2 separate regions of the Homo sapiens genome follow, and region 1 is linked to region 2. Evidence: promoter capture Hi-C in human tissues and cell types (Jung and others, 2019). All regions are on one chromosome and are shown on one strand. Each heading gives the region's core, a stretch centred on a gene start or on the middle of the fragment in contact. The rest is flanking DNA. Distances are from core to core; before and after follow the strand shown. Region 1 overlaps NETO2 (neuropilin and tolloid like 2). Region 2 holds the start of ITFG1 (integrin alpha FG-GAP repeat containing 1).

Region 1 (4,182 bases), core at 32-2,531, 320 kb after region 2:
TTTACATAATTGTGGATATTACCCACAGAAGCCTTGTTTGAAATATTATGGTCAGTTTCTACTAAAATAAATCAGCCATAATGAGTGTGTGAGATTTTAAGTAGAAAGTAATTTTAGTTCTTTAAGATGCCACTGATTATTCTTGTTTTACTTTCAGCCATTAAGACAAAAGAATAACCTTACTAGGCTTTTAAACCTTTCCTATGTTGTTGAAACTAAAAAATTCACTTTTAGCTGTGATCACTCTAGGCCTCACAGAATTCGAGTTAATCTTCTGTCAAGGTTAACTAAGCATTATAGTCTCATGAAAATATTACATGAGGATTATAAATCCATTTTTTGTTCTTATTCTGCACACTTGCTTCAGGAGAATCTGTTCGACTCAGCAATATTTCAAGCTGTAGAAACTGGTTAAATTTGTAATGTAACAGCAAAAATATTCCTTGGCACTGTATTTAAAAATCTTGTCTGAGACGGTGCAAGTATTAACTCGTTTTTCATTCTTACATTTCACCCAGGACTATAAACTAGTTATACAGAAATAAGTGTGGTACTGAAAAACTTGTCCTTTAATACTAAAGCCTTATTAAAAATCAACTTTTTGGCTTTTCCTTCCAGGGGTTGGGAAAAACTGTTTTAACACTGTCAATTGAAAAGTCTTATTAAATAATGGTTTTTTTGTAGTAAATCCTCAACTGCAATCTGGTTTATCTTTCATTTTGAAATTAAAATCACTATTTAGGAAAAACCCTGCATGACAAAACAAGTTGAAATCAAAGCCATTTTCAGTCCTTTTTAGAAAAGATAGAAAAATGATAGACTAGAAATAAAGTTCATATCTGAAATTTTAAAACAATAGACTACCTCCTTCTCTTGGGGTACCACCCATCCAGCACAATCTCCTATCATTTTTCAACTTACGCTCCTGTAGAATAATTATTTATACTTAGAAATACGTCTCCCTGAGGCACTGGAGATTGAAATTATTATGATCTTTGAGTTGGAAAGGAGCATCTTAAGAGGTGGTCTAATCCAATGGTTTCCAAACTTCAGAGGAACTTTTGTGAGGAAGCACTTGAAAAAAAAAGGAAAAAGGACAACAGAACAGAGTTGCTGTGATTGGTGGGAGGCCTTGCCCTCTCAGTCACCTCAAACACCAGGGTGGCTCCAAGAACTGACACTTCAACGGGTTTGTTATATTGCTTCCAAAATTACAGGGTATACTAATCTGAAAGTTCAGTCCTTTCTAATCAAAATGACATTAAGACATGTTGGTTTAAATATGCCTGGAGTAACATTGGAAATTACAGCACTAGAAGATACCAAGTAGTCTTTCAAATATGACCTGATCATGTTAGAAGGTGATGGTAGTCACTGTACAGTCAGGAGGACTGATGTGTAATTAAAATACAGCTTACAAAAGCGCCATCTCAGATCAGCTCGACTAAGGAGGAGTTTGTCACATTCTGCAGGAAAGAGAAAGCACTTCTGCTATAGAGTTACTCTTTCTTACTAAAGTGATTGGCATGTCATTAGCATATGTAGGCTGGAGTGATCCCAAAGTTCACCATCCATCTTTGTTCTTAACTAGTAAAGTATGATTGAGTTTGATTAAATTTGGGTACTTTTTTTGTTCTTTGGAACATAGTTTATCAAAAACAAGTGACTGCCATGTCAAATAGTATGTGGACTCTAATTGAACTCTGTTCTGCTGTCATTATAGGAAATGGTAATGAGCAGAGAGACCAGGTAGGTGGTTCTCTGTGTTGGATTTTAAAAGCTTTATGTTTACCACTGAGTTGCTTAACACAGGAAGATGTAGAAAGAGACACACTTAATTACTAACAAAGGTAAATTGAGCCAGCTTGAGGAAAATAACAGTGGTGGCAGGGTATCTCAGGAGGGTGGGGGGGAATCTCAGTTCTTTTCCCATCCCCTGATTTGTGCTCGCATTTAAAAAAGCAAGGTCACATGTGTGGCTACTGTTTGTTCATCCAAGATGTGTGCCTGTCAGTTACTGTGCTATGTGTTTGCGGTTACAAAGAAGATGCACTGGAGTCGCGCTCAGTCACCCCCATGTGTTCATCGTGTCTGTATTGAATACTGTTGAGGCCAGACAGTCTTTTAGGCTGTGGAGATGCATCAGTGAATCAGACAGACAAGGCCCTTCTTTCTAGTGAGAAGAGACAGACAACCAACAAGACTCAAAATACCAGGTAATATAATAATGAAGTAAAGCAAAATGAAGGAGAAAATGTAGCGCTTATTTAGAAATTGGGAAAGCCTCACAAGACCTGAACAACAGGAAGGAATCAGCCAAAGAGATTCTAGGCCGAAGGCACAGCTGGTTCCTGAGGCAAGAATTAGCTTGATGTGTTTTGAGTGATGGGAAGGCGGCCTGTGTTCTAGTAGAGAGCGCTCGGAAGGCCAGAGAGACACGCAGGCTCCAGGTCACATAGTACCTCCGAAGTCAGAGTAAGGGGCACAGAGTTGTTCTAACTATAATGGGACTCTACTGGAAGATTTTAAGCAAGGCTGTGATGTGATCTGATTTGTATTTTGAAAAGGTCACTGGCTGCTGTGTACATAATACACTATAGGGACTGTGGCAGAAACTTCCAGTTGTCTAGAAATGTCCATTTAACTATTTGTCAGTAATTCTCTGAATTTAACTGAGCGCACAGTTCCCCAAAATGAAGACTATTTACCAGTTTCCTGTTGGTTTAGGTGACCATGTGACTAAGTCTAGCCAGTTAGATATAAGTAGAAAATGATGTGTGCAACTTAGGGGAATTGTTGTTTTTGTTGTTTAAACTTTTATTTTGAAATCATTGTAGATTATGGGCAAGTGTTTTTGTTTTGTTTTGTTTGAGATGGAGTCTTGCTCTGTCACCCAGGCTGGAGTGCAGTGGCACGATCTTGGCGCACCACAACCTCTGCCTCCCAGGTTCAAGCGATTCTCCTGCCTCAGCCTCCCCAGTAGCTGGGACTACAGGCGTGTGCCACCATGCCCGGCTAATTTTTGTATTTTTATTAGAGACGGGGTTTCACCATATTGTTCAGGCTGGTCTTGAACTTCTGACCTCATGACCCGCCCACCTCAGCCTCGCAAAGTGCTGGGATTACAGGCGTGAGTCACCGCGCCTGGCCCTGGGCAAGTGTTTTTAAAGAAAGAGAGAATGCCCTTTATCAAGTCATCATTCTTGATAACTAGAATGCAGACATGGGAGCTATAATGAAGATAGAATAGCTGGCACTCCAGCCTCATACTGGACCATAGGGTGACCTTGGAAATGAGCCTCTCACAGCTGGGTAGTGAGACAGAAGGAACCCAGGTCCTGGTATTTATAGAGCCTTCACTCTGATGCTTGACTCCCTATGTCCAGCTTGTTCGCATGACAGAGCAATGTATTTCTATCTTGTTTTAAACTGTTAGTTTAGGTATTTCTGTTACTCATGCCAAACCTAATGCTAACATAGAAGTGTGCAAAATCAGTATAAGAACAAAAAAATTAAAAAACAGATGGAGAGCTGTTGAATGATCAGAAGTGAAAAGTCTGAATGCAGTCAAGTAAAATTAATCTGGAAAGGGTTCCTGGAGAAAGCAGGTTTTAGAAAATGTACTTTCATGGAAGCAAAGAGGTCCAAGGTCCCTGGCAAGTGCAGATGTTCAGAAACAAGAAGTATTTGTTGGAGCCCTTATAAGAATAGATAGTAGAGCCTTCACCTCAAGTTCAACGTTTCCAAAATCGACTCAACTCCTTTTCGCCCACCCCTGCCCTGCCCAATCCATATTGGTCCAAACATGTCTCCTGCCACTACCAAAGGAGGGAAAAGGCCACCTCTCACTGTTGCTTTCAGTAATCTGCCATGCTCCTGTTGCAGTGGTACTCACAGTGTGGTCCCAGCTCCAGCAGCTTCTGCATCCCTAGAGAATTTGTTAAAAGGCAGATTCTCAAGCCCTGCCTCAGACCCAGTGGATCAGAGTCTCTGAAAGTACTCCCATCTGTGAGTTAATAAACCCAAGGTGATTATGATGCACATTAAAGTTTGAGGACCACGGTCACAGTGATTCAGTTCCCACACCTGGAAGTAGAAATGCTGGTGGGATTTGCACATTTTTGAGCCTTAATATATTCTACCAGATTAACCTCCAAAAAGTTGTGCCAGTTTGTAATCCAG
Region 2 (4,404 bases), core at 84-2,583:
TCCCAAAGTGCTGGGATTACAGGCGTGAGCCACCGCGCCCGTCCGAAAATAATTTCTTAATATCAATGCAAGTGCAAAGTTAATTTTCCTAGCTAACACCTTTCACACCCACCCCCAATAATGACACTTCATCAATTCTTTAAAAGGGAAGCTCCTTAGCTGAAAACCTGCATTCCGCCTTTCACCTTTCCTGTTTAAGTGCATGCCTTTTGTTCAAGATTATATCCAGCCAACCAGGAATACAGGAAGTTTTAATAACGCCACAAGTCATGACGTTGCAATTTGAACAAGTCAGTTCGGGACACTTGGAACTGTTAAAACTGCCTGCAAGGCACCTTCTGACCTCTATGCTTTCGGGTTTGGAAACCACACAACCTGGGGCCACTTAAGAAGCCCTTTTCTTTCTGGGCCCTAACTATACTCTTCAATATCTGAGGCCCAGTCTCCTTCAGTTTCTGCTAGATAGATGACAGGTCTACTGCTTAGAACCTGTGGGGAATGTAAAAGGGATATAAGACATAAAGCAAGGAGCCCAGACGCCGGCTTTCTGCAGCCAGATCGTAGTTACATCTGACTTGGTCTGATTAAGCTATCTGACTTTTGCAGAGAACATTCACAGGAAAGACACATTCACAGGGAAGACACATTCCCTTTCCCAGGAATGTGCCGCCGCCCGATTTTTAAGTTAGAAGACTCTAAGGGAAGTCCGGACCGCTGCCTACTTTCCGAGTGGGGCTCACAAGCGGAATAGAGTCGGGGGCACACGCAGAGTGGAGCTGGCTCTGCCACCTAATTTTTAGAGGTGGAGGAAGATATTAGAAACAAGGCCAGGGCCGCCACCTGCTTTCTAAGGAGGAACTCGGGGCACAGGTTCATTCCCAGGGCCCCCACCTGCCTCCCGCCAAGGCGCTTGAGGCGAAGCACCACCCAAGGTACTCGGGTGGGGGGCGGCGCCCCAGCCAGCCAAACCTGAGCGCTTGGTCCGAGCTCTTCGCTCCAAGACCTTCCAGCTCACTTCTGCCGTGAGTCCCGCCGCCCCCGCCATCGCGCTCCGGTCGCCGCCTTGGCCACCGCCCCCGGGGCCGCCTGTCAGCAATGCCGGGCCACGCCCCCCGCACGACACTGTCGGGAGGCGCGCCTGCCGGAAGTGAGCGTGAGGGCGGCTTTCACCCTAGCTCCACTGCTTTTTTAGCGTCGGAAGGGCAGCCCTAGTGGGAGAGAGAAAAAGGAGCCGGCAGCGGCTCTTACGCGTCCCGGGGCTGCGCGCCACTCTCTCGGCCGGTAACGCGGTGCTTTGCGGCTGTCGTCAAGCGCGGCGTTGGGCCGGCGGGCGGGGGCTGAGGGGCTGCCATGGCGGCGGCGGGCCGGCTCCCGAGCTCCTGGGCCCTCTTCTCGCCGCTCCTCGCAGGGCTTGCACTACTGGGAGTCGGGCCGGTCCCAGCGCGGGCGCTGCACAACGTCACGGCCGAGCTCTTTGGGGCCGAGGCCTGGGGCACCCTTGCGGCTTTCGGGGACCTCAACTCCGACAAGCAGACGGATCTCTTCGTGCTGCGGGAAAGTCAGTGCTTGCCGGGCCCTCCCTCTGTTCGCTGTCCGTGTGCCTCTCCCGGTGTTCCCCAAACCCATTGCCCAATGGCCGGTCCTTCTGCATTTCCTGGTCCTTCTCTCCCAGCCCTGTGGCCTTCCCTTTAGCATTCTTAACAGCTTGTCCTTTTGCACCACCCTTTCCAACCCCAGGTTCTGACCCAGCTACCCTACAGTTTGACCTACCCTCAAAAGCCCTGACAGCACCTCAGTTTTGTTCCTAAGAAGTCTGCGGCCCTCACCCAGTCACCTTACCCCCTCCTCCCCATGGAATCACCTGTTTTCCAAAGTGCTTCCTGATTCCTAGGAATCTTTGTAGCTTGCCTCAACGTTCGCTCCCAAGGCCCACTCATTCCTTTCTATTTTGCTTCAGTCTTCCTTCCCCGTTGATGAACATGAAAAGGTGCAACCTGACAATCTCTTCTCATAGGGGGCTTCTTCTTGCCTCCCCACCTACCTAATTCGCCCACCCCTTTCTTTGTCAAGGCCACAACTTTCTATGAAGCGAATGTACCCTTCCAAGGGCCTAAACACTAAACAGCTCACACAAGCATTTTGCAGGGACCACTGATAAACCCAATGCCTCCTTGGGAAAGCAGTCTCAAACTACAGAAATTTCTCTCTTGAGCTGCCTGTTCTTTCGTGTACTCCTTCCTCATCTTGGTCATCACCTTAGTGTTCCAAATGTCTACTTTCTTTGCTAACTTGTTCTTGGAAATTCTTTGCTTTGACAATCGTTAAACTAACTTTTTTGTAAATCTTGATGCTGACAGTGGGCATTAGGGGGTCTTAGGGTTCTTGAGTACCTACAGAAGCAGGTGCTGCTTAAAGATCAATGCTGTGAAGGAAGGAAGGAAGAGCTACTCAGAGCTTGCCTGACAGGATCCTGAACCAGACTTCTTGGAGCCCTTGCGGGGATGCAGGAACCTCTTACAAACCCTGAATATTTTCCCAATCTTTTTGACTCCTCATTTTGCAGTGTACTGCCAAACCTGTTGCTGCTGTGTCCAAACTGGATACAGAGAGTAGCCTTGACTTTAAAGATGGCCTGTGTTTGATTAAACAATTCCAAAAGTCTGTCTCAATGAGTGCTAATTGAGCTCCAAGAATGTGTCACCCTCTGGAGGATGGCCCCATAGGAGGAGGGTCTTGGAGGATTCAGCATTTTGTGCTCACATGCTTAATTATGTCTTTGTCAGATATCTACAATGGGAGTCCCTGCATCCTTGGTGTGATGCATCTGTGTAATGAACCAAACAGCCTTACAAGGGACAGCATTGCTAGATTCGGGGAAGACAAGTCTTGACATGTAGTATAGTTATAAGGCATCTTTATATGGTTCTTTTAAGTCAACCAATCTGACTCCTCGCAGAATCCACTGGCTTCAGTTTCTCTTGATCAGCTGCTTTTTCCCATGTTCATCCTTTCTATTTCTCTGCTACTTTGAACATTGAACTTGTGATATAATGTTAGGCATCTCCATTGGACTAGTGGGACTATGCTTGAGAGGGCAGATGAACTGGAGTAGAATAAAAGTTTTCTTGTTGAGAACAGTGCCCAGAAACCTTCTTGTAACCACTGATTAGATATCTTATCAACAAACATTTTTCTAATATCATATATTTGTTTTCTTTAGGAAATGACTTAATCGTCTTTTTGGCAGACCAGAATGCACCCTATTTTAAACCCAAAGTAAAGGTATCTTTCAAGTAAGTACAAATATGATTATTTTGATAAAACTTTAGTCATTAATATAATAATGGATATGCAGTAGCTGATTGGTTGTCTTTAAAGTCAGCCTTAGTGTTGGGATGCAAAACCACTGTTTGTGAGGTATGAGTAGCAAGTGATTTTTTGGAAAAATAGTGAAAATACCAAAGTTTAAAAATGACTTTAAAGAAATAAATTTGAGTGGATCCAGGTTTGTTTCTATATAAACACCCTTTATTTCCTTGCAATCTCGTATCCCTCGTATCCCTTCTTGAATGTGTCTCGTTCTGTGCCTCATCTTGAGGCAGCAGTCACTCACAGTAGTCTCATTGTATTAGCCATGTGTTGTGTTTTGTGGAAGAGGGGCCTATTTTGCAGTGGGGAAAAAGTCAGTGTTCTAATTTTTTTGTTTAATTGACTGATGGTGAGTTTTTAAGGTTGACTTGGAAGGAATTCAAGTTTAATTATCTGAATTTTTAAAATGTTCAAGTAATAGTTATTTTTCTTTTCTGTGGTTGGCATTGCATGAAACAATGACCACTCCCACACCTCTACCTCCATGATAGTGACCCAACACAGTTTTGAAACTACATTCATTTGAAGCAAGCATTCGTGGCTGTCTGAATTCAAGCAAGAAGAGATGGGTCAGTGCAGGCCAAAGGGGCAGCTTCCAGAGTCATGGAACTTGAGCTTGACCTTAGTATAAATAAAAAGTTAGGTGAAGACGTTCAACTTGGAAGTTCAATTTTGGGGACAGAGCATTTATAAGAGATAAAAGTAAGAACAGCATGTTATGAAGAGGAGGTAGAAAGATCTGCCTGACAAAAGTGGAAGGTACACTTCGGGGAGTTAAGGACTAAGAACATGAGATAAGAAGGGCAGACTGGGAGCCTTCAGATACAAAAAAGAGTTTGAATGCTGTCCCATTAGAAGAGGGGAATCATCAGGTCCTTGTGCAAAGGAGAGATGATGAAAACAGTATTTTAAATTGATTTACTTGTAAACTATATGCAGAATGAATTGGTTTGTAGAAGATTAAAGACTACTTAGGAAGCTGTATTTAAAAAGTCCCTGTGTGGGCTGATTAGTTCTCAGACTCTACAGTATTTT

Evidence for each region. The method cuts DNA at HindIII sites, captures the fragments that hold promoters and counts their contacts. A contact is called where the count stands out against the background at its distance.
Region 1: a contact is called between a fragment that was not itself captured here and the fragment with the promoter of ITFG1 in region 2, in 1 of the 25 tissues and cell types used here (hippocampus).

The regions. Positions count from the first base shown.
Region 1 is chr16:47,137,088-47,141,269 of GRCh38, reverse strand. The region is part of intron 1 of NETO2 (neuropilin and tolloid like 2); the gene reads left to right. Among named protein-coding and RNA genes, the nearest start is that of NETO2, 4.8 kb to the left of the region's middle. The HindIII fragment of the contact is 7,905 bases long and covers 1-4,182 here.
Region 2 is chr16:47,457,992-47,462,395 of GRCh38, reverse strand. ITFG1 (integrin alpha FG-GAP repeat containing 1) reads left to right here and starts at 1,333. Exons shown (of 18, transcript NM_030790.5): 1 at 1,333-1,558; 2 at 3,221-3,293. The coding sequence starts at 1,351. It overlaps PHKB (phosphorylase kinase regulatory subunit beta), which reads right to left and starts at 1,065. Exons shown (of 31, transcript NM_000293.3): 1 at 970-1,065. The coding sequence starts at 1,045. RefSeq lists a silencer at 955-1,424. The HindIII fragment of the contact is 6,431 bases long and covers 1-3,381 here.